Linked DNA regions of Homo sapiens: regions 1, 2, 3, 4, 5 and 6 are each linked to region 7. The links are contacts of gene promoters, found by promoter capture Hi-C in blood cells and fetal thymus (Javierre and others, 2016). All regions are on one chromosome and are shown on one strand. The core of a region is centred on a gene start or on the middle of the fragment in contact, and the rest is flanking DNA. Distances in the headings are between cores, read along the strand shown. Region 1 overlaps NDEL1 (nudE neurodevelopment protein 1 like 1). Region 2 holds the start of LOC101928044 (zinc finger CCHC domain-containing protein 9-like). Region 3 holds the start of C1QBP (complement C1q binding protein). Region 4 overlaps DERL2 (derlin 2). Region 5 overlaps NLRP1 (NLR family pyrin domain containing 1). Region 6 holds the start of KRABD2 (KRAB domain containing 2). Region 7 holds the start of MED31 (mediator complex subunit 31).

Region 1 (3,451 bases), core at 50-2,549, 1.8 Mb after region 7:
GTCGGTTGAGCGGCGGCGAACATGCGCTTTTGACACATTGGAGGTGAGCCTGCAGCGCGGGGCCGCTCCCTAAGGGGCTGCGCTGGGCCGGCGGCGCCGAGGCCTGCCCTTGGGGAGCCTTCCCGGCCCGGGGCCGTGTCTGAGGCTCCGCCGGGGCGGGCCGGGCCGGGTTCCGGGGCGGCCAGCCTGGGGGCAACTGTTCCAACCGCTCTAACTGTCCCCTCCCTTCCCTGGTCCGATGTGTGGCCCCCCAGGGGCGCCTGCAAGGGAACGATTCCGGTGGCCTCCGGAAGATGTGCCCCGTTCCGGGTAGGGTGAGGGCTGGCGGTGACGGAGGCCGGGACGTGGCACCGTGGGCTGGGGCGCTGGCGGCGCAAGGAGTGGCCCAGTCGGAGGTGGCAGCGGCGCGCCCAGCCCGCCTCCTCCTACCCCCTCTTCGAAATTCCTTCATTTGCGAGGGTGGCTTGGAGCGGGGTTGCATTTTGATCTCTCAGTGCCTCTCTCCCATGGGGGGCGAGAGCGCGAGCAGCCCACGTTGGGCTCGGATTGGCATTCTCCTGACTCCCGCCCGGAACTGCTAATCATCCTCCCCCTGGAGTTCGGCAAAGTGTCACCAACGGGCTCGGGTTACTTGTGCTCGACTCTTTTCTTGCTGTAAGCCATGAGATGACCCTTTAAGTTTTGCAAAGGAGGTGAGAGTTCTGTCACCACTGATTATTACCTTCTATTTACGTAGCACCTTTACACGTTTCAGAGCACTCTTCTTCCTATCTTTTTCTAACCGCATCACCTTGTGGTTGCAACTGATTATGTTATCGCCATTTCGATGGGTAAATGGAGCTGGGATGGGGGTAATTATTTATACTTAGGTTCAACCAACTGGTGAGTGGTTTAGCTTGGATCATAATTTACATTTCTAGGCTCGGAGTTCTGGTTTCTTTTCGTGGGATTTTTATACCCTTCTCAGCTACAAAACAAGGCAGAAAATGTGACTTGCCAAAGATATGCCAGAAGCTGGTAGATTACTTACTCAATTATTTTTGAGAAAACTCACCTAGGATAAAAACGGCTGCTCAGTCATGAGAAAAATCTTCCTGTGAAGCTTGTTCAGGAGTTGCTGGTTAATTGCTTTGCTAAATCGTGAAGTTGATGGGCACAGTGCAGCGTTAAGTCATGGGCTGAAGAGAAGTAAAGGGAAACCAAGTGAAGTATTTCTTCTGAATTATTATTAAAATTATTGTTATTTAAAATTAGAGTGCGTGAGAAACAAAACCTTTGGCCAGCCCTGGTTAGAGGTTGACTTGATCCAGATAGAAGTTGCTAAATCTTCTGAAGCTGTAGTTCTTTTGATTTTTTTAAATTAAATAAATTGAAGTTGGATAAAGAGCTTAAAATAAGTAGGAACCTTAGTAAAACTTAGATCTTGCTTTCATGACATCTGCAAAACAACTTATTTTTGTTTTCATTTTAAACCATGCTGGGATAAATTTGGTTACTAAAGCTTAAAATTACTTCTGACGTAAGTTTCTGAGCACTCCATAAAGTAAAAAAGAAGTCTGATAGAATCAAAGAGAGACCGTGTTTATGATCAACTTTGAAGAGTTAAAAATTCTGTAAATGTCACCTTTGAGAGTAGTAGAATTTCAGTAAAAAGGCATATATTGCCAACAGTGAGTTCTGAAAGAACTCTTCTAACGTCAGTCCATTTTAGAACTGTTAACCAGAAACAATATCATTGAAAATAGATTTTCTTACCATTGTACAAAGAATAATTTCCTTGTAAATAAAAGGCATTTTGGACAGGCTGTTTTAAACTCAAATGAGTTGATTGTTGCTAGATTTCTGAAGGTCATACACAGTATGATAATGCTTTACGTAAAAATTGTCATGCTTTTGAGACTGTGTCCGTATTGAGATCTGGTATTAAAGAAAGATGGGGTGGGGGCGGGCAGAGAATAATAATTTTTTTTTTCTTTGATGGAGTCTCCCTCTGTTGCCCAGGCTGGAGTGCAGTGGCACAATCTCGGCTCACTGCAACCTCCACCTCCTGGATTCAAGCGATTCTCCTGCCTCAGCCTCCTGAGTAGCTGGGATTACAGGTGCGCACCACGATGCCCTGCTAATTTTTGTATATTTAGTAGAGACAGGGTTTCACCATGTTGGTCAGGCTGGTCTCGAACTCCTCACCTCGTGATCCGCCTGCCTCAGCCTCACAAAGTGCTGGGATTACAGGCGTGAGCCACCGTGCCCTGCCAATAATACATAATTATCTATCTTCATTCTAGCTTCAGAAAATTGTGGATGTACCATTAGAGCATTGTTTTAGCAGTATGTTTTCTATATTAGCTAACTTTCTATAGCCTGAATATCTCCAGTTACATAGTTTGAAATAAGTGAACACATCCTCCCAGTGTAACTTGAAGCAAACTGAACAGACTGTATAACAGCCCCTGAAACTGTCGTTTGAGTATCTGCAGTGGTAGCAAATTTTATTATTTGTAAATAATCTGATTTTTATTTTTATTTTTTTGGAGGCAGGGTCTCATTTTGTCACCCAGGCTGGAGTGCAGTGGAGTGATTACAGCTTACTGCAGCCTCAACTTCCTGGACTCAAGCGATCCTCCCACCACAGTCTCACGAGTAGCTGGGACCACAGGTGCATGCCACCACACCCAGCTCATTTTTGTATTTTTGTTAGAGATGGGGTTTCAGCATGTTGTCCAGGCTGGCCTTGAAGTTCCAGGCTCAACTGACATTCCCACCTCAGCCTTCCAAGTGCTGGGATTAATATGCGCGAGCCACTGTGCCTGGCCAGAATCTGATTTTTAAAAAGAGTAAATCTGATGGGTAAAAGTAGGGCAATAGAGCTGGATAATACCAGTTAGGAAGCAATAAAGATGAGGTGTGACCACAAAGTAAGAAGTTTTTGCTTTGTTCTTTTTTTTTTTTTTTGAAACGGAGTCTCTCTCTGTCACCCAGGCTGGAGTGGAGTGCGGTCGCGCGCTCTCGGCTCACTGCAAGTTCTGCCTCCCGGGTTCACGCCATTCTCCTGCCTCAGCCTCCCGAGTAGCTGGGACTGCAGGTGCCCACCACCACGCCCAGCTAGTTTTTTGTGTTTTTAGTAGAGACGGGGTTTCACCATGTTAGCAGGATAGTCTCAATCTCCTGACCTCGTGATCCGCCCGCCTCGGCCTCCCAAAGTGCTGGGATTACAGGTGTGAGCCACTGTGCCCGGCCTTTTTTTTTTTCTTTTATTTGAGATGGAATCTCACCCTTTTGCCCAGGCTGGAGTGCAGTGGCCAATCTCGGCTCACTGCAACCTCCTCCTCCCGGGTTTGAGCGATTCTCCTGCCTCAGCCTCCTGAGTAGCTGGGATTACAGGTGCCGGCCACCATACCCAGCTAATTTTTTTTTTTTTTTTTCATATTTTCGGTATAGACGAGGTTTCACC
Region 2 (3,334 bases), core at 573-3,072, 1.1 Mb before region 7:
CAGCCAATTATTTTTATTTAGAGACAGGATCTTGCTCTGTCTCCAGGGCTGGAGTGCAGTGGCATGATTATGGCTCACTGGAGCCTAGGCTCAAGGGACCCTTCTGCCTCAGCCTCCAGAGTATCTGGGAATACAGGCATGTACCACGATGCCCGGCTAATTAAAAAAACTGGTTTTTTTTTTTGAGATAGAGGCTCGCTCTGTTGCCCAGGCTGGAGGGCAATGGCGTGATCTCGGCTCACTGCAACCTGTGCCTCCCACGTACAAGCAATTCTGCTGCCTCAGCCTCCCGAGTAGCTGGGGTTACAGGCACCTGCCATCATGCCCAGCTAATTTTTGTATTTTTGTAGAGACAGAGTTTCACCATGTTGGCCAGGCTGGTCTTGAACTCTTAAACTCTTAACCTCAGGTGATCCGTCCGCCTTGACATCCCAAAGTGCTAGGATTACAGGCATGAGCCACTGCATCTGGCCAAAAAAATGAAAAAAAATTTTTTTTTTTAAGAGACGGGGTCTTGCTATGTTGCCCAGGCTGGTCTTGAACTCCTGGTCTCAAACTCCTGGTCTCAATAGATCTTCAGGCCTTCGCCTCTCAAAGTGCTGGGATTACAGACATGGGTGCGTATTTCGTATCTCCTTGCCACTAGAATATAAATTGCTTGAGAATAGATACTCTGGCCTCTGTTATCACTGGCACCTACAACAGCCTCAGGCTCAAAGAAGCTAAGATTTACTGTCTGCCTAGTGTTGTGTACCAGCTCGCCCAGAACAACTTCCCACTCATGAGCTCACCTAGTCAAACAACCGTTTGACGCAAGCTTTGCTATTCCCTTCTTACACATCTGAAAACCTGTTTCAAGATCACACATCTAATGGGTGGTAGAGCCAAGAATTTGATTCCCAGCTCACTGCCTGTCCCTCAGAATTCTAGCTGTTGCTATTAGAATCCAGATCCAGGCCGGGCACGGTGGCTCACACTTGTAATCCCAGCACTTTAGGAGGCCGAGGCGGGCGGATCACTTGATGCCAGGAGTTCGAGACCAGCCTGGCCAACATGGTGAAACCCCGTCTCTACTAAAAATACAAAAATTTATCCGGGTGTGGTGGTGGGCGCCTGTAATCCCAGCTACTCGGGAGGCTGAGGCAGGAGAATCGTTTGAACCCGGGAGGTGGAGGTTGCAGTGAGTGCAGTGAGCTGAGATTGCGCCACTGCACTCCAGCCTGGGCGACAGAGCGAGCCTCCGTCTAAAAAAAAAAAAGAGAATCTGGATCCAAAGCGGACATGCATGTGTGTCTCCCCCATCCCCACACACTTGTTTGTGTCTGGCCTTTCTCCTACTCCAAGACTGGCTCCACTTCGGGGCTCGCTGCCATGGAGACGACTCCAGATTTAGGAATACATTTCCTAGGCTTCCGGCAACTAACGTGAGGACTTGCTGGGATGAGGGACGGGGAGGTCTGCAGAAGGAGGCGGGGCATGCGGGGGTTGCGGGGCTTAGAGGGTTGGCGGAGCCCCTCCTCGCGTAGGTCCTTCCTTCTTTCCCTCCCTCCCTTTCTCTTTTCTTTTTCTTTCTCTTTCTCTTTCTTCTTTCTTTCTCTTTCCTTTCTCTCTTTCCTTCCTTCCTTCCTCTTTTTCTTCATTCCTTCCTCTTCCTCTTTCTCTTCCTTTTTCTTTCTCTCTCTTCTTTCTTCTTTCTCTCTGTTGAAAATTGTTTTTGACCACACCCAGATCATACTGATATTTACAGTATAGTCCTGGCTACAAGGGAGCCCAGCTGTAACTTGTGAAGTGGGCCTGGTTTAGAAAGTAACAATGAGGTGGTAACTAATGACAGTACTAGTTGTTATCAAAAATTAACACCTTTAGGTATTTTTGTTTTGGGTTTTTGTGGTTTTGGTGCATCCACAATGTCTTCATAGTCTGCACTTATTCCCTTTGCCCACAGACCAACTGTGGCCATTCGATCTGAATTCTCACTTTCAGGGCAATCTTTCTTTAAATGTTCCACAGAGCCATGAAGTTGGCAACCACTACCATCAGCATAGAGTCCTTTGGGATTATCAGGACAAGATCTAGACAGGTGCCCCATTTCTCCACAGACAAAACATTCTGCAAAAGGACATTCGCCAAGAGGCGGGTCTACTTTAGCCTTACACTTGGTTATTTCGTGATCTGTGGACCCACACTTGTAACATCTTCTAGTGCCCATATCTTGATTTTCAAGGGCGGCAGGGCAATCCGCAATTCCACGACCAGGTTTTCTACAATGGAAACACACCATTGCATTTTTCTTTGCCCCTTGTCTTTTAAATCTTCTTACTTCCCATTGACTGTCCTCTTGGAGGAAGGGTTGTGTGGAGAGTGGAGGTCTGCATGTGGTAAAGGAGATGGGTGGGTGGGGCGTGAAGGACCCGAAAGACAAGGCCAGTCTCATGGGTGTGTGACCTGTGCGGTCACACAGAGCCCTGAGCTCAGCAGGGCCTGGCGCTTGATTTCATGTTCTGTTGTCACCGTCTTGACATTCTTATCATTTTTGAACGAGGGGCCCTGTGTTTCCATTTTGCACTGGGTCCCACAACTGCTGGAGCTGGTCCTACAGGAGGGTGAAAATTAGCATATAATGAGCAGTGAGGACAACCAGGAGTCCCTTTCATTGCCATCTTGGCTTTGGTGGGCTTTGGCCAGCTTCTTTACCGCATCTTATCAGTGGAGTCTTTGTGACCTGCATCTTGTGAAGCCAGTCCTGCCCACCTCCTGTGTCACCCCCAGCTTAGAGATCTGCATACAGTAAAATTACTACTAGCTTTCTCCTGAGGCCCTGCAAGCTAAAGCTTATACCTTGTGATACAGGCGTGTCAGATTGCCACCACTTTCCTGCTTTATAACTAAAGATGCTTTTGAGTCTAATACCTGGATAGACTGTGTCCAGCATTAACCTTTTTTTCTTCTGTTCTCATAAAAATCTCTCTTATTAAAAATCTGTTTGGCTTTGTATTTCAGACAACAGAAGACTAGTTTTCCAGCCTATTCACTTAGATTCCAAATGGCATCTGATCTCTTATTTTTTTCTTTCTTATTTTTTTAAAGAGACAAAGTCTATGTTGCCCGGGCTAGTCTCAAAAGCCTGAGCTCAAGTGATCCTCCTGCCTTGGCCTCCCAAAGTGTTAAGATTACATGCATGAGCCACCATGCTTGGCTTTGATCTCTTCTTTAAAACTGGGCTTAAGTATTTTATGAATTATCACTAGGTGCTATTTGATTTTAAAAATATTTGTTATATTCATCAGGTGTTCGGACGGTTCAAGTTTATGTCTTCCAGGCTACAACAGTTTCA
Region 3 (3,042 bases), core at 263-2,762, 1.2 Mb before region 7:
TATCTGTGTAATGAGATTATGGATGACTATAATGCAGAAAAGTGTAAACACTTTAACAGTTTAGGAGATGATGGGGGAGCTGACTTAGGTCACAAACTCCCCACCTCTGATGGCAGCCCTTACTACAGTGTAACCCCATCCTGTTACATAGAAGTTACATATTTTTCATTTTCACCCATACTAAACATTAGAGAGCAGTGTCCTATTTTATCAGGGCTGTAAATCAGAGATCAAACTGATTCTGCCAGTACTTTTTTGCACTACATTTTTGTCTCCTTAGTAACCAGCCCACAGCAAATTTGTGTTCGGTGAATGGACTGCCTGGGGCTTACGAAGTTGTCCAAATGAATCCTTCACTCTCTTGAAACCCATTTATCAAAGTATCCACACCTGAACTCAAGGCTCTTCTGGGGATGACCCAGGATGGGTCCTGCAAGGTTAAGGGAGTTGCTGCCCTGGGATCCCCAGACCAGTACTTACTTTTCCCCGGCAACTTTCCGCACTAATTTCGCTTCTGTCCCATTCAGTTCCAGCTCCCAACCTCCAGACATCTTAGGGAGGGTTTTATGCTTCTGAATTTTTCTTTCCTCCTTAATTTCATCACTCAGGAAATCAACAAAAGCTTTGTCTCCTAGAAAAGAAATCCAGATACATAAAAAGGAAAGCCAGTTAGTCTAAAACATAAAACTATTACCCAGGTTATTGCAGCCAGAAACCTGGACTGTTTCTAATCTCTCTGCTATTACGGTTACTCTAGAAGCCTGTTTCCTTATCGGTAAAAATACCATAATAGTAGTAGGAAGCTGAGCCTGATTCTGGAAAAGTGATTTCCAACAATGAACGCATTACCACTTTCCGCTATAAACCAGGAGAATTTCCAATCCTCTTCCACTTGCCAAACGATATAACTATGCTATTTTCAACCACGACCATGGGCCTTCCCAAAGGTCCACTTTCGATAGAATAAGACTAAGGAAAAAGGTACCCTAGTATTTAATTTTATTCACCCCCTACCAAAAGAAAACGAAACTGCTGGATAGGGGAGGTGGGGGAAATATGATCATACGTGGGTTTAGCCCGCTGGTTGCCAATCAATGGAAAAATGTCCCAGACCTCAGAGGTCGGTTGCAGGCCCTATTCCTGGTCTACGTTTTCCCTCTGTTGAACGCAAACCACACCCCCGGCCCGCTAAACCTCACCGTCGGTGTGCAGCGAGCCGCAGCCACAGCCACAGGCGCAGGGTCCGCGAGGCCGCAGGAGGCCCGGCCGCCGCTCGGAACCTGCGCGCACGCTGAGCAGCCCGAAGGGCCGGGTGCACAGCCGGGGTGCCGGCTGCAGGAGCTGCCGGAAAGGCGAGGCGGGCGCGGCAGCGCGGAGGCCGGCGACGGAGGAGCCCAGCACACGGGGCACGCAGCGCAGCAGAGGCAGCATCGCGGAAACGACTGCGAACACGTGCAGATGCAAAGGACAACCCAGGCCTAGGCGCCCCGCGACCTGAGGCGCCGCCGGAAGCCCCGCCCCTGCCCGGAAGCGCTTCCCGCGCCGGCGCTCTGACGACCTAAGGCCAGCGGGCGGAATCGCGCCCTCTGCTGGAGACTCCGGTGCAGCCCGGGAAGCCTCGAATCCGGATTCCGGAGCTTTCTTGCTGCGCTGCCGAGTCCGCTGTCCGAAGCTGTTTAATTCCCTCTAGTGGCCGCTTACCCACTTTCCACCTGCTGTTCTCAAAGCACGCAAGGCTTTTGGGCTGCGTGGAATGCACTCTTGTCTCCCGCCAGCTCTCACCAGACCCTTCCACGGTCACTTTCCTCTAGGAGGCTGTGGTGTTATGATATATATATGTATTGGTTTTCATCCACAGTTCCTGGGTCGTAACTCCTATAGCCCTTGTTACAATGTTCTGTGATAATGTTGGGTGTGTTAGGCCTCAGGAAACAGACTCTCCCCTTCTCCTGCCCTCCTTTTACCTGCCCCAAAGCAGGACTCTAATCTCCTTCCACATTTCTGATTATGGGTCTTAAGTCCCTTCCCAGAGAAGGTCCCACCATATACCCTGGGGGAAGGGATGCTGATGTCCAGAAGCTTCCATAAAAACCCAAGAGGAGAGGGTTTGCAGAGCCTCTGACAGCTGAATACGTAGAGGTTCCTGGAGGGTGGTGGCCCAGGGTAGGCAAGGAACCTCGGAGCTTCTTCCCCATTCCCCACCCTGCTCATCTCATCTGTATCCTTGGTCATATCCTTTATATGAAACCGGTGAATGTGTTTCCCTGAGTTCTGTGAACTGCTCCAGTGAGTTAACATAATCCAAAGAGGGGGGTCGTGGGAACCCCAACTTGAAGCGGGTTGGTCGGAAGTTTCAGAGGCCCAGACTTGCCATTGCTGTCTGAAGGTGGGGGCGGTCTTGGGGACTGAGCCCTCAACCTATGGGATCTGACACTATCTCCAGGTAGATACTGTTGGGATTGAATTGGAGGACACCCAGCTGGTGTCTGCTGCTTAGTGTGGAGGGGAAAAACCCAAACCTTTGGCCACATAAGTCTTCTGTGTTGATTGTTGTGTTGTGAGAGCAAAGGAAAGTCTGAGGGTTTTCCTGAAAGAGGCCTTCTAGAACCTTTTTTTCCACCGGCTCGGAACTCATGCTTGTGCGCACCCAGCCCATATGCTTCATTCTCTTTTCAACAGGAACCTCCTAGCGTTGCTGCTTTAACCAGGTTAAACCCAACCAGACTGTGACATCCTCAAGGGCAGGATCCATGATTAATTTTTGTGACCTTCCCTCTCTGCACCTCCAACCTTGCATCCAAGTTCTAATGGAACATCATTTTTCTGGGGACAAGAAGCCAGCTTATATCATTTAGATAAGTCCAGAGGCTTCCATAAAAACCCGAGGACAGGGTTTGGAGAGCCTCTGATAGCTAAATACATGGAGGTTCCTGGAGGGTGGTGGTCCAGGGACGGCATGGAGGCTGGGAGCTTCTTCCCCATTCCCCACCCTGCTCATCTCCTTATCTGTATCCTTGGTCATATCTTTTGTATGAAACCGGT
Region 4 (3,417 bases), core at 253-2,752, 1.2 Mb before region 7:
CGTGGGACTGTAGTCTTGGTTAACGAGGTTTTTCTCATTGTTTTATTTTTTTTTTTTGAGATGGAGTTTCGCTCTTGTTGCCCAGGCTGGAGTGCAATGGCGCGATCTCGGCTCACACTGCAACCTCCGCCTCCTGGGTTCAAGCGATTCTCCTGCCTCAGCCTCCCAAGTAGCTGGGGTTACAGGCGTGCGCCACCGGGGCCCGTCTAATTTTGTATTTTTAGTAGAGACAGGGTTTCTCCATGTTGGTCAGGCTGGTCTTGAACTCCCGACCTCAGGTGATCCGCCTGCCTCGGCCTCCCAAAGTGCTGGGATTATAGGCGTGAGCCACCGCGCCCCGCCCATTGTTTTGTTCTAGTAGCATTACTTCTTTTCAGTAAACCCGCGTTTTCCCCTTCTCTGTCCAAATAACAGTCACTCTTCAAGGAAAGTACTTAATTCTGTAAAATCAATGAGAAGCGCAAACGTGCATTGTCTAATCCTCTAAACAACTTATAAGTTATGTGGTATATACTGGTTATTAGATTATCTCTAATTTACAGATTAAGAAATTGAGTCATCTTAGTCATTCAGATGTCCCCAAATCATAATTTTGTGATCATCTTGTGTTACAGAAAGGAAAACCAATTCTGATATACATGAATTTAACTCAGAAAATGACTCCTCCAACGGATGTGGTCGCCTCCAGTAATACAAGCAGAGAAAGGAGGGAGTTCAATGAAATTAAAATTGTCTTTTATCTTTCCTTTCCCCCAACCATTCCAGCCAGACTCTCAAGTTCTCTACATGGCTGTGCAACCCCATCACAGACACTTCAGTGAAGATTCAGAACTGCAGCAGAAAAAAGTAGGATTATAACTAGTTCTTCCTTACCCTCCTAAAAGTTCTTAGATGATTTGCTAATTTACCACGGAGAATGCCAAGTAGCTGTTTGCTCTTACAGGAAATGTGATTTCCAGAGAATACACCGTAAGCTTCAGCTCATGTGAAGGGTATCTTCTGAAGCTCGTTTCCATGAAACTCGCCCTGTTAAATATCTCCCTTCCCGTGATTCGTGAGAGAGCTAGTCTAAAAACAAAAAACCTCCCCTTTGCTCCAGGTCGGAGATAATTTTCCTCTAGTTGCTGACAGTTTGGTGACCAGGCATTACTGAAAATGTGCACGTTGAACCAGCAGCAGATTTGTGTTTAAGAATAAACTGACAAATTTTCACTTCCTACCCTGAAATATTTAGAAAGGCAACCCAAAACTACAAGGGATAATAAATGTTAACTCTCAAATTATGGACTTTGAGTAAAGACATCCCAGTCCTTTTTCCCAGTGTGCTTTCCAGAGTAACTTAAGGTAGGAGTCCGATGTTCCAAATGATTACAATAATTTAGGTAATGTAAATGGGTGGACTTATTTCTTGATGGAGCACATTCCACCTCTACATGCAGCCCCTAATCATTTCTAGGCAATGGCTGTCATGTAGACCTATTATTGCCAGATCTTCCAATTTTCTCAAGAAAAGCCAAAAGTGAAGATTTTTATCTGTCAATGTTAAATACAGGTTTAAACTTAAAAAAAAAAAAAGTACTGTCAAAACAAAGCACATAGGTAGGTAACAAATCTGTAGGTAACTCATCCATAATCTCTGGCCTAATGATCCAGCTATTCTATAGCCTCAAAGCTAAGAGGACCAAAGAGTGGAAAAATTAAGTCCTATATATGCATCAAGCCATGCTGCTCACATTTCTCCCATTGGTAGACTGAAATCTGCTGTTTCTCCTGAAGAAGTCTCTTGGGGTTCACCAGCTTTCATATGTAGATACTGACAAGCTAATAACTATTCAGAGAATATCCTGGTTCTTCCTTCAAACGACGAAGTGTCAGACACATTTCATTTTTAACTTGTCTGGGATGGTCTGTGGACTTAACTGGTCTGATCACGACCATAACAGCTGGTGGTCACCTTTGCTTTTCCGACCACCAAATTACTGCCCTTGATCATGTTCAGTTTCCCTCTATCCCACTTTCAGAGACAACCACAAGCTTCAGCAACTAGGCTCAAGCTTGCATGCATACACTTTAATCCCTCTATAATTAAAAATACCAGATAATACTTTGCTGATCAATAAACAAAGGTATTTATTCAGCACCCATGTGCCAAGCACTGTGCTAGGCACTGTGGTGGATACAAAAATTAAGACATGGTCCCTGCCCTTAAGGAGCTTACATTCTCATGAGGGAGACAAGACTAATATACATGTACCAGCTAGGAACAGTACAAGACAATATATAATTTGGCGTTAAGAATGTCATACAGACTTGAAGCTTTATAGGGATTCAGAGACAGACAATAAAATAGGCCTTAGAGTCAAGATTTTTTGAGGAATCAGGAACAAGGCCAGGCCTTGAAGAACTGAAGAGACTTAAGTTGAGGTCCCTGTTAGGTAGAAGTGGGAGTAAAGTTAAGAAAAAAACAAGTATGCATATAATGTAGGGGCTTACTAAGAAGTCACTGTGGATTTCTGAGCAGAGGAGTGACTTGATCATACAAGATTCAACAATTTTATTGCAAACTCATAAAATATGTTTAAGTAGCCTGGAGACATCCTACAGAACACAGAAAATAATGGCAGGATCATGACTAACAACATAGCTGGAACTCACCTGTCAAAGAAAAACAGCTACAACATAAAACACTGGCAGGATAGATGACAATAGTTCTAGGAAGCCCATTACTCAACATGGCAATAGCTCCAATGCTTCCTTATTTTCAGAGGCCCCAGAGACTGAGGGTTTCATTATCCAGACCCAGGACTTAGGTGTTCTGCTTCTAGAGACTACACAAGAGGTATGAAAGATATGAGGACATACAAGAGTGACACAGAAAAAACAAGAGGAAGAGAGAAACAAATAGAAATCCATACTGGAAAAAAACGCACCGAAATGTATATAAAATGTATCTCCTAAGGAGATGCAATTTGTATGTCCATTTATTTTTAAATGAACGTATACCGTATTTCCATAACAAACAAAAAACACTATGCTTTAGTCAAGTGTGCTTTTCAGTATCACTAGAAGAATCCAGGAATCCCTCAAATTATGTGTAAGGTTAGTTGGTTGGTCTCAAAATTCCATGTATCAAATCTCACTTTCAGTTTATTTGCATTGTGAAAGGGAAGTGTGTTCTGGAAGAACTAAGATTGAGAGGTAAATTGGGGAGAAAGTAAGGACTTTTCCTTATGTCCATTCAAGCACAGGTATCCTGTCAAGCAACACAGGGCTAGGAATGGTGGTTGTAGGGCTGGCCAAACTGATGAGAGGTGATTGAAATTACCACTGCTCAGGACACAGTGTAGTCAGTCACACAGCAGGGCATCCTGCCACTGGGAACTTGCACCCTATAAAATCGGAGAAATCAAAAACCCT
Region 5 (3,509 bases), core at 993-3,492, 1.1 Mb before region 7:
GGGATTACAGGCGTGTGCCACCATGCCCAGATAATTTTTGTATTTTTTGGTAGAGATGGGGTTTTGCCATGTTGGCCAGGCTGGTCTCGAACTCCTGGCCTCAAGTGATCCTCCTGCTTCAGCCTCCCAAAGTACTGGAATTACAGGTGTGAGCTACTTCACCCAGCCTACATATCTTTTTTTTTTTCCTATAATGAACATGAATTTTATTGTGAGAAAAAGTTTTAAAAATATAAATATGAAGGCCCACATCAAACATTTCTTCCTCTGAGAATCTTTATTACCCACTCGTGTGATCACTCCCTTCCTTGGGCCACCACAGTACCTTGTCCATACCTCTACTGTTGTAGACATCACACTCTGTTGTCATTAAATGAATGTTTGTCTTCTCCCCTATTTTTTGAGCTCCTTAAGGCACGTATTGTGCTTTTTAATCTGTGATCTGTAGGGCCTGGCATAGAATCAGTGCTTAATAAATACTTATGGAATGAATCATCTAAAGCAGGACATAGACACATACCAATAGCATGTGATCGATACCACGACAGAGGTCGGGGAACCGGGATGGGGAAGTTCTCAGTACTGCCGGGCTGGAGAATGGTTGGAGGAAGCTATTCTTGCACAGCCAGAGAGTGGGTTTCAGGTTGAGTGCGTGGGGCAATGGTGGCACCACGGTCACAAATAATTATGAAGTCAGTTTTGCAGGGAAAAATAGGAAACTCTTTTTGAGAGCTGATGGGGAAGATCTCAGGGCCAATGTCGTTGTCATGGAAAGGGTTCCTGAAGCAGCTGGAGGAGCAATTTCTCCGAGAGAATGAATGCCCAGAGAGAGGAGCAGGGGTAGGGGGGCTGCCTGATCCTTGGGGAGTGTGGGGGTAGCTAAGGTCAGCAGGAAGGTGGGAGCACGTCCAGGAGAGAAGATGGACGGTCATTCTAAGGGTAGGAGGAGAGGTGGCAGACACGGCAGGGCCCAGTGGCCTCTCCAGAAGCAAGCAGGGCCTGCCCCACAGCCGGGCACTGCAGAGGAGCTTAGGTAGACAGAGCATGGTGGTCAGATTGGGCAGTTAGAAGTCACTGGAGACCCTGATCCTTTAGCCACCCCCACCCCCGGCCAGGCTCAGTGAGCATGCCTCTGGTGCTCAGGTCACTCGGGCTTATGGACTGACAGAGGAGCTGCAGACATGGGTGGTTTGGGTACTCACAGGACTACCATGGTGGGGCTCCATGTTGATCTGTGCTGCCTGCCCTCAATCAGCTGAAGCTTCTTCACGTGGCGGCTGAATTTAATGCAGAAAGTGCACACTAAGAGCTCCATGTCTGTTTCTACACACATGCCCATTTCTTCGAAATGGGCCATCACTTGTGTCAGGAACGTTTTGTTCCGAGTCTCGTACAAGCAGTGGAGGGACTCCAGAGAGTGTGGCTGCAGCAGCAGCTGCAGGGACGGGACCCACTGCATCAGGTTCCTCCCCTGAGACAGCCGGCAGTGAAAGATGTTCTCCATCTCTCTCTCCCCCTCATCACTTAACAGGCCCAATAGGAAACGTGTGGTTGATGCCCCAAACAGGCCATGTATTCCATATGCTTCTAGCGTCTTTTCCAAATCTATGATGCAATTAGAATGTTTACCTCTCCCCTTCTCATCCTCCAAGACATAGGACATTGCTGCAAAGAACTCTTGGAAACAGAGGTGAATGAAGCTGTAGCTCAGAGGGATGGGGTGCTCTTGAAGAATACCCATCTTCAAGAAGGTGGAGATGATGGCCCCATCTAACCCATGCTTCCTGAGGTCATCTGGACTGAAAAGGGTCTTTTTTTGCCAGATGCCCTCAGCAGCCAGAGAGCAGAGGTCTCTGAGCTGGGGTCCCAATGGCTGAGCTTGGAGAGCCTGGGCAAGGTAATGTAGACAGAGGGTTGTGGTGGTCTTGGAAGTCAGTGTGAGTTTTTCCTTCCGCTTCATCTGCTGCATCAGGCAAGTGCAGGCCAGCCAGGACACCCAGGGCACAAGACACAGGGCCCAGAGCTCTTTGTTTGATTTGACCAACCTAAAGGCTCTAATTGCTTGCCTTTCATCTGTGAAATATCTGTAGAAATATTCCTTCCTGCTGGACTCAGAGAACCCCAGGACCTCTACCCAACGTGCCTGCTCCAAAGAAGGAATGAGGTTCTGCAGAGCTGTGGTCCGAGCCGTGATCAGGAAGGATGCCTCGGGAAGTATAGTTTTCCCCAGCAAACTGCCCAGCAGTGCATCCGCCGGCTGTGGCTGGCTCCAGTGCAGACAGAGCTCAGAACTCGGCTCCTGCAAGACCCATCCTGGCTCATCTACACCATCGAGGATGAAGAGCAGCCGCTCTGGCCTAGACAGGATCTGTCTAATGGGAGCCGGAGTGGCTGTCCCATCTTTTCCGATGAGCTCAGCGAGACTCACCACCTTGGACTGGGCCAGCTCTCTGCAGCTGAAGTAGAAGACATGCTGGAAGCGGTCCCCATACAGCTGGCCTCTCCCCCAGGCTTCCTTCACCTGCCTGGCCAGTGTTGACTTCCCAATTCCAGCAGCCCCCTGCAGTATGACTATGCGAGGTTCTTGGGTATCCAGGCCTGGGCCAAATAAGTCTCTGATCTCAATTAAATGTCCTCGATTCTCCTCCACATAATCAGGCCAGCTTCTCTTGACCAGGGGATCTTGGCTTCTGGGGTGAGGTCTTTGTAGAAGTAGCAGCTGTGTGAATTTTTGGTTAAAATCCTCATTTTTCCAGGGCCATGTGGAACAGAGGCTCTCTCTCACAGAAGGCTCCCATGGGTGGTGGTGGGGCTGTAGGCTGGTGTGCGCCTGTGGGGGCGTTCCTACCACCGCTGCCCATGGGGGCCTGCCTTTCTCTGATTTCTCTCTCTCTCTTTCTCTGATTTCTAAGTAAGGGAGGGAAAGAAGGAACATAAAGGTAGAGAATAGAAGAATTAATTAATTAATTAAACAACTGTTTTAGGCACCTACTCCAAGCCACACACTGCGCTGTCTGCAGACACTGGTATGTTCTTGCCATGCGGCGGAAGGACATGTGCTTTGGGGTAGAATATCCCAGTTCAAGTCTTGACTCAACTAAGTCACACTCCCTGAATGACTTTCCTTCACTGAATATTTATCAAGGGCTTACTCTGTGCCAGGTGCTGCTATAGGGGTTGGGGATAAAGAGTGAACAAAACAGACACAACTCTCAGTCCTCACTAAGCTTATGATGCTGGCCATTAGCCCCTATGAGCCTCAGTTTTCTCATCTGTAAGCTGGGGGTTGTAGGTCATGGAGGACTGGAGGAGACACTGGAGTGTGTAGCAGATGCTGACAGCATCCCAAGCACCTGCTATTGCAGTACCTGCCAATGGTGTCCCTCGGCAACAGCTGTGGTCATCTGTCTGAGGGCTCTTTCTCTGCCTGTAAGCCGGGTGGGCCAGAAATACTGGAGGATAGTTCTCCAGTCCAGGAGGTGCCCTTAGTGGATGACAGGTGGGGTCCC
Region 6 (3,417 bases), core at 482-2,981, 1.7 Mb after region 7:
CTACCGCAGCCTCCCAAGTAGCTGGGACTACAGGCATGCGTCACCAGACCCAGCTAATTTTTTCTTTTCTTTCTTTTTTTTTTTTTTTTGTAGAGACGGGGTCTCATTATGTTGCCCGAGGCTTCAGTATCTTTTCCAAAGCAACATGAAAGAAATGTGACCGTAAATCAATCAGCTTCTTGGTGTGATCTATGTGACGGCTAGGTGATAAACGAGTTGGTCAGAGAAAACTGGAAATATTTCCAAAGCCATGTTTACTCCCTTCACCCACCTGTGAGTCTTCGCCTTGGCTGTTTCCGACTCGGAATGTCCTCGCATTGATCCTCCCAATCACAGCCAGCTGAAACCAGCCTCCTTCCTGACGTATTCAGTAACTTTAGCTGATTGCCATCTCTCCTTCATCTCAACAACCTGTACCACACTCACTGGAGCACTTCGCTTTGCATCTTTAGTCGACCAGTTCAGATATATACAACCTATAAGGTAGGGACGGAGGCTTCTACCTGCCTGTACCCCCTTTGGAGGGCCCACGAATACAGAGCTGAGCACAAAAGATGTTTAAAGGACATTTTGTCAAAAATGTCGCTTACAGGTAGGTCGTTATTAGCAAGGTAGAGCAGCGGTACGGCCGAGTCTACGCTTGGGAATTCATTTGCTGACTCTTATCATTTACTGACTAAAGCAAAGTTACTGAGGCCTCAGTTTCCTCATCTACAACCCGGGGAGATGACCAGTACCCATCACAATCGATTGCTATGAAGATTCAATGATAATGCAGATAAGGCACTTAATACAGTGTCCCCTCACCGTCCACACCACACGGGCACGCCCGCTTATTCCTGAGGACCGGGCTGGGATGTCGCCTCCTTTGTGTAGCCTTCCTACCCTGACTTCGCAGACTGCTCCCACCGCCTGGATCCATGCCCGTCCACCCGCCAGCTCAGGGCTGAACGGCTGAGGCGGGCGCGCGGTGGAGAAAAGAGCTGCAGACTGAGGAAGGTCAGGAAGGAGAAAGGGACACACCAGACGCGGCGTCTGAATCCCCCTCCACCCAGAGGCCCCCGAGCAGCAACTCCGCCCCACCTCCCGCCCGCTCCGCCGGAAGCCGGTCAGCGCCAGCCGGAAGCCCCGCCCCCTAGAGGCACCGCGGACACCGTGCAGCGCTGTTCACCCAGATGCCAGCTGTGACCTTGGCTAAGCCAGTGACTTAACTCGGGCCCGTTCCCCATTCCCACGTTGTTGCCAAGTCTCCAGCCTGGAAAGTAAACGGGCTTCAGGTGTCCTGTTTAGATGCTTAAAATGAGGAACGGCAGGAGCACACACACTGCTGCCACCTCACACCTTTTCACTTCATCCTGACGAAGCTGCAGTTTAGTTTATATTTTAACTCAAAGACGTGTTAGGTTTTGGTTTGATGGCACTCATCCAGCACTTGTGCAGAAAACAAGGTAAAGGGGGCCCATGGGTCTATCAGATAACCTGAACCCGAGACCTCTCAATCTGGAGGAACAGCTTGAAGAAGTCATCTAGAAGCTATAAAGTCACAGAAGCTTCTTATCCTATTGAAAGCAAGACTTCCTATCCAATGGCAATACAAACTTTTACGCAGTAAGGTAAAAAATATAGCCTGTCCATATAGCAACCTATCCATAGTAAGCAAGTTAAAAGACAGGTTCAAGAGGAAGTGTTTCCAACTAGCTTTTCTTGTAGGCCTTCTTCTTCTCAATGACACCCCTCCAGCTTCTGATATATCCTCAAATGCTGCTGCCCACTATAAAAAAAATCTCATCAGTCCTGATTTCAGAAAAATTTTAGACCAACAAATCAGAGGTAAGAGACTGATCCACTGAAAACTAGGGAGTGTCCTAAATCACCACACACAAAACACAGGCTCTTTGTTTCAAGTTTTAATCAAAGCTTGTATATAAGATTACTTTATTCCTGCATCTTCTCAATGGTTTCTTCCTTGTATTTGCCCTTTTCCTTTCCTACTTGGCGAGATTTGGCTTTCCGTTCGAGGATCTTTTTGCGGTCTTTGTCCAGTTTTAGCCTAGTGATAACCACCTGCAGAAAAATAAGAAAAAAACACTCCCAAGCTTTAAATAATCACTAAAACACAAGGGAAAGCCCAACATTCAATACCATTTCCCAAACCTGGGGTAGGTGGATGCCTAATAAGAAAAGATTTTAACTTTTAAAAAACTCCAGAAATCACTCTTTAGCCATCAAACCTGGCTTATTTACTAATTTCCTACCAACAAAGGAGAAAAGGCAAGATGGTATCAGTAATTCTTAAAGCCTCTTCTGTGCTTCATTATAAGATTTGTTTCTTTTTCACTGAGAAATATATGATTCTGCTCTTCTCACTACAGTTTTACAAGCTGTCATATACAAATATATTTGTTTCCAAAGTAACTTCAGGCTGGGTGCGGTGGTTCATGCCCCCAATCCCAGCACTTTGGGAGGCAGAGGCAGGCGGATCACCTGAGGTCAGGAGTTTGAGACCAGTCTGGCCAACACGGTGAAACCCCTTCTCTACTAAAAATACAAAAATTAGCTGGGTATGGTGGCACATGCCTGTAATCCCAGCTACCTGGGAGGCTGAGGCAGGAGAATCTCTGGAACCCTGGGGGGGCGGAGGCTGCAGTGAGCTGAGATGGTGCTATTATTGCACTCCAGCCTGGGCGATCAATCGAGACTCCATCTCAAAAAACAAACAAGTAACAAAACAGCAGGGTGTGGTGAATGCCTACTCAGGAGGCTACTGCGGGAGAATCGCTTGAACCCAGGAAGCAGAGGTTGCAGTGAGCTGAGATCGCACCATTGCACTTCCAGGCTGGGCGACAAGAGCAAAACTCTGTCCAAAACAAAAAAAACCCCACCCCCAAACAGAAAAATAATAAAGTAACTTCAGAATTTTAATGCTAGAAATTAAAGGTAGCATCCACACATAATTCCACCTGCAAAATCTTTAGTGAGAAGATGACAATACGATCTTACTCCAACAGTTCCAATCCTAAAAGACATCCAAATTATGATAAATTTTAGTCTTATGAATGCGAGGAAAGGGTGAAAAGAGGTGCTGGAAATACAGCATGCAGACCAAACAAAAATCTCCACAGTCACTGAACTCATATTCTAGTATAGGGAGCCCGAAAACATTTACAAGTGAATCTACATCACTTTGATAGAGTAAGAAGGCAAGTGTGAGGAGGCCGAGGGGCTTTCTAGAGTGATCAAGCAAAGCCCTACATTTGAACAGAGACCTAAAGTGGTGAGCAATCTATCTATGCACAGGTATCTGGAAGAGAACAGCAAGTTGAAAGGTTCAAAGGCAGGAGATTATCAAGTTTCATAGATGTGTTTCTCAAACTTGAGTAAGAATCAACTGGAGGGCTTATTAAAACATACACCTGG
Region 7 (3,282 bases), core at 445-2,944:
CAATGTGAAACTAAGAAATCTATTATATAATAAAGTATACACATGCTTAGGATTATAAAAATTAAACTTACTTTAGATACTTGGCATATTCTGGGTCTTTCCAGTAAAGCAAGTATTTAAGATAATTAACAAAAGCTTTGTCTTTGAAGTAACCTCTTTGGGCAAGAACTGAAAAGCATTAAAAAAAAAAATCTGTAGGTCAAACCAATCCTTAAACTGTGATTTGTTACCCCTAATATAAAGGATCTATTTACATAACACCCCCACCACCAACACACATTGGATTCAAAACACAAGTCCCAGTACGCAATTATATCTATATACCAGCATAAGTGTAATGTCATTCAACTGAGAATGTGTAAAAGTAGATACTATTTTGAACTGCAACTCTTCTGTCAGAAATCATTAATAGCTACTCAATTTAATGAGGTGCTTAACAACTTACAATTAAGGTAATTTGGGTTGGCTAAACATTGCACAAATTCCAACTCCAACTGAAACCGAAGTCGATTTCCAGCATCATCTAGGAGACAAGACAGCAAAAATCATGGAAAACAAAGGTCACTGTATATAATACTGATTTGTAGTAAGGAAAGAGCAATAAAGAAACCTGACTAATGTTGAGATGGTCTTCCTAAACTAGGAGTGGGAGGAGATAAACCTTCCTTCGAAATCTAAGAAAAGCGGAGCCCTGATTAAAAGGAGTAAGTTAGAAGTTTCTCTAAAGTTAAAGAGAAATCATCAAAGAAAACAGCAACACAAACGGAGAATTCCTACCACTCGTGGGCCACTATGTAGGAATTTTAACAGTGATCACTAAGGTAGGCTGTAATAACTGTGGCTTCCCCTATTTTAATAATGCGTTGTAACAACTGTTAACAGTGATTAAGTTTCGCAAACGCTAGGGGCTGAATCAGTAAAGAAAAACTTAGGATGCAAGAGACTGCGGAGAGCCTAAAAGATCATGCAGCGCATGCATATAAGAAGCACCAGGGTCAGGAGATCGAGACCATCCTGGCTAACACAGTGAAACCCCGTCTCTACTAAAAATACAAAAAAAATTAGCCGGGAGCGGTGGCGGGCTCCTGTAGTCCCAGCTACTTGAGAGGCTGAGGCAGGAGAATGGCGTGAACCCAGGAGGCGGAGCTTGCAGTGAGCCGAGATCGCGCCACTGCACCCCAGCCTGGGCGACAGAGCCAGACGCTGTCTCAAAAAAAAAAAAAAAAAGAAGCACCAGTAGCAGAATGATACACAAGTCTGGCGACGATATTTCAAACTTAGGCAAGCTCATGTGAGAAGCAGAAAACCAATCAAGGAGGACACGGTTTAACACACAAGTCCTCTCCCTTAGTCTCACCCACGCCAGGGAGCTGGTGGGGTGGTGTCTGAATAGCAAAGATGTGCGAACAAACCAAATCAGGAAAACTGCAAAGAGTACCTTAGTCTTTCTAGACGCTACAAGAGCCTTCTCTCCTCTCTGTCCAAATATTAACCCTGCCAAGAGTAAGGCCTGGAAGGAGGCCACGGGGAAGAGGTCTGGGTCAAGGAGAGTTCCATCTGCGAAGACTCCAAGATCAGAGAGCTACTCACCTGTCTCCATAGCGACAGCAGCGGCCATAACAAACGAAGACACCAAAACGCCACCAGCCTGACAGAGCAAAAGCCCAGAGACGCGGGCGAAGTTCCGGAAACCACGGCTCCCTCTTCCGGTCCCGGGGCACTGTGGGATATGGGGCGGGGCGGCTCCGCCCATCCCCGACCAGCCCTGGGATGGCTCCACCCGCGCTGGCTCCAAAATAGCGAGGGGGCGGGGCCCGGGCCGTGGGAGCGCCTGAGGGGCAGGAGTCCAGTGTTTTAGCCTTCGAAGGACCATGGTGCTTCCACGTCATCGTGTTGTGGCGCTCCCGGCTATGGCAGTACCGTAGTTTTCCTCTCTTCTGCCTGCGGTGACCATTGGGCTGTAGGGTGCCCCGAGGCCTCCCTGGCCCCCTCACGCCGGCAGAATGGCCTCAGCCCGAGGGGCCAAGCAGTCTTCGCCCCGGGTGGGGACCACCCGCTACACAGAGACGTCCACGGTCCGCGTGGAGACCTCGTCCCACCGCGTGGAGACGTCGTCCCGGCGGGTGGAGACCTCCCAGCGCCGCAGCGAGGGGCCCTCCCTCTCCCCCTCGGGGAAGCGGCTCCCTCGCATCCTCGAGGCGTCCTCCCGGCACGTGGAATCCTCCTCGCAGCGCACGGAAACGACCTCCCGCCACGTCAGAGCCTCGTCCCTGAGGGTGGAGACGTCTCTGCACTGCGCGGAGAGCCCGACCCCGCGGGCCAAGCCGGCCGCCCGCCAGAACGAAAAAACGGCCCGATGAGATGCTGCTTCCCAAAGGCCACCAAGGGGCCAGGGCCCTCAGCCAGGACAGAAAGGCCTCCAGTTGCCAGCCAGCCAGCCAGCTGCCAGGTGGACCAATCATTTTCGGTTTCATGGAAACAAACCATAAATCAATGTAAGAAACAGCCAAGCCGCAGTTTCTGAACACAGCCAACGTTTACTGACCGTCCTGCGTCTTGGACCAGCCTACTTTTGACCCAGTGAACTATTTTCACTTGAAGCCAGCACAGAAGGTTTTCAGGCCCAGGATGCTGTCTAAATCGGGTTGATGGACAAAGAGAGGCTGTTTGAGCCTCTGAGCCAGGTGAGTTTGGGATCCACAGCCCTCAGAAAACCTTCACCCCTTAGGAACAGAGACCAAACTGAAATAATGACCTGTGGAATGATTCCATGCCTGCTAAAAACTCGAGGGACAAGGAACAGACTCATAAATTATTAATTGGCCTTTGTTTATGTTTCAAAGTAAATGGTCGTTTTCTTTATGCTAAGTCTTTGTACCTGGCACCCCCATCCATACACTTTTTTAAGGTAGGTTAGATGTGGTTAAAAATGACAGTAAACCCACCAGCAAGCAAAAATAATCTTAGAAAGTGAGAGGAGGTCACTGAAACCTGGCCTGAGGTTTGAAGAAGATGGAGAAGAGTTATATTTATTGAGAACCGGCTCTGTGCCAGGCACTAGATGTTCCTCCACTTACGATGGGGTTACCTCCCGTTGAAACTATTGTAAGTTGAAAATATGGTAATTTGAAAATGCACTTAATACCCCTAACCTACTAAACATCATGGCTTAGCCTAGCCTACCTTAAACATGCTCAGAACACCTAAAGTTGAGCAAAATCATCTAACAGAAAGCCTGTTTTATAATAAAATGTTGAATATCTCATGTAATTTATTGCATAC

The links. Contacts are between HindIII fragments. The CHiCAGO score rates a contact against its expected background, and 5 or more counts as called.
Region 1: a contact is called between a fragment that was not itself captured here and the fragment with the promoter of MED31 in region 7, in 1 of 17 cell types (activated CD4 T cells). The highest score is 6.0, in activated CD4 T cells.
Region 2: a fragment that was not itself captured here is called in contact with the fragment with the promoter of MED31 in region 7 in 1 of 17 cell types (total CD4 T cells); the score reaches 5.3 in total CD4 T cells.
Region 3: a contact is called between the fragment with the promoter of C1QBP here and the fragment with the promoter of MED31 in region 7, in 3 of 17 cell types (erythroblasts, M2 macrophages and M0 macrophages). The highest score is 7.2, in erythroblasts.
Region 4: a contact is called between a fragment that was not itself captured here and the fragment with the promoter of MED31 in region 7, in 4 of 17 cell types (erythroblasts, naive CD4 T cells, activated CD4 T cells and 1 more). The highest score is 9.4, in erythroblasts.
Region 5: a fragment that was not itself captured here is called in contact with the fragment with the promoter of MED31 in region 7 in 2 of 17 cell types (naive CD8 T cells and M0 macrophages); the score reaches 6.1 in naive CD8 T cells.
Region 6: a contact is called between a fragment that was not itself captured here and the fragment with the promoter of MED31 in region 7, in 1 of 17 cell types (non-activated CD4 T cells). The highest score is 5.0, in non-activated CD4 T cells.

What each region holds. Positions count from the first base shown.
Region 1 is chr17:8,436,003-8,439,453 of GRCh38, forward strand. NDEL1 (nudE neurodevelopment protein 1 like 1) reads left to right here. Exons shown (of 9, transcript NM_030808.5): 1 at 1-43. Among named protein-coding and RNA genes, the nearest start is that of NDEL1, 1.8 kb to the left of the region's middle. RefSeq lists silencers at 1-155, 196-435. The HindIII fragment of the contact is 399 bases long and covers 1,101-1,499 here.
Region 2 is chr17:5,510,194-5,513,527 of GRCh38, forward strand. It overlaps LOC101928044 (zinc finger CCHC domain-containing protein 9-like), which reads right to left and starts at 2,533. Exons shown (of 1, transcript XM_047437231.1): 1 at 1,759-2,533. The coding sequence starts at 2,434. The coding sequence ends at 1,847. It also overlaps a transcript of NLRP1 not described here. The HindIII fragment of the contact is 2,014 bases long and covers 816-2,829 here.
Region 3 is chr17:5,437,643-5,440,684 of GRCh38, forward strand. C1QBP (complement C1q binding protein) reads right to left here and starts at 1,513. Exons shown (of 6, transcript NM_001212.4): 1 at 1,200-1,513; 2 at 481-631. The coding sequence starts at 1,431. RefSeq lists silencers at 1,180-1,229, 1,340-1,509, 1,488-1,670 and an enhancer at 1,730-1,909. The HindIII fragment of the contact is 1,457 bases long and covers 621-2,077 here.
Region 4 is chr17:5,469,149-5,472,565 of GRCh38, forward strand. DERL2 (derlin 2) reads right to left here. Exons shown (of 7, transcript NM_016041.5): 7 at 2,106-3,417. DHX33-DT (DHX33 divergent transcript) reads left to right here. Exons shown (of 3, transcript NR_135644.1): 2 at 766-846; 3 at 944-1,212. Among named protein-coding and RNA genes, the nearest start is that of DHX33-DT, 1.8 kb to the left of the region's middle. The HindIII fragment of the contact is 1,060 bases long and covers 973-2,032 here.
Region 5 is chr17:5,557,137-5,560,645 of GRCh38, forward strand. NLRP1 (NLR family pyrin domain containing 1) reads right to left here. Exons shown (of 17, transcript NM_033004.4): 4 at 1,203-2,907. Among named protein-coding and RNA genes, the nearest start is that of NLRP1, 26 kb to the right of the region's middle. The HindIII fragment of the contact is 1,966 bases long and covers 1,260-3,225 here.
Region 6 is chr17:8,375,629-8,379,045 of GRCh38, forward strand. It overlaps KRABD2 (KRAB domain containing 2), which reads right to left and starts at 1,076. Exons shown (of 2, transcript NM_001304947.3): 1 at 272-1,076. It overlaps RPL26 (ribosomal protein L26), which reads right to left. Exons shown (of 4, transcript NM_000987.5): 4 at 1,888-2,064. The coding sequence ends at 1,936. RefSeq lists an enhancer at 715-1,266 and a silencer at 1,011-1,210. The HindIII fragment of the contact is 367 bases long and covers 1,549-1,915 here.
Region 7 is chr17:6,649,911-6,653,192 of GRCh38, forward strand. MED31 (mediator complex subunit 31) reads right to left here and starts at 1,695. Exons shown (of 4, transcript NM_016060.3): 1 at 1,591-1,695; 2 at 446-523; 3 at 72-168. The coding sequence starts at 1,618. C17orf100 (chromosome 17 open reading frame 100) reads left to right here and starts at 1,852. Exons shown (of 1, transcript NM_001105520.2): 1 at 1,852-3,282. The coding sequence starts at 2,004. The coding sequence ends at 2,360. RefSeq lists enhancers at 1,110-1,169, 1,260-1,339, 1,410-1,539 and silencers at 1,790-1,869, 2,170-2,219. The HindIII fragment of the contact is 11,591 bases long and covers 134-3,282 here.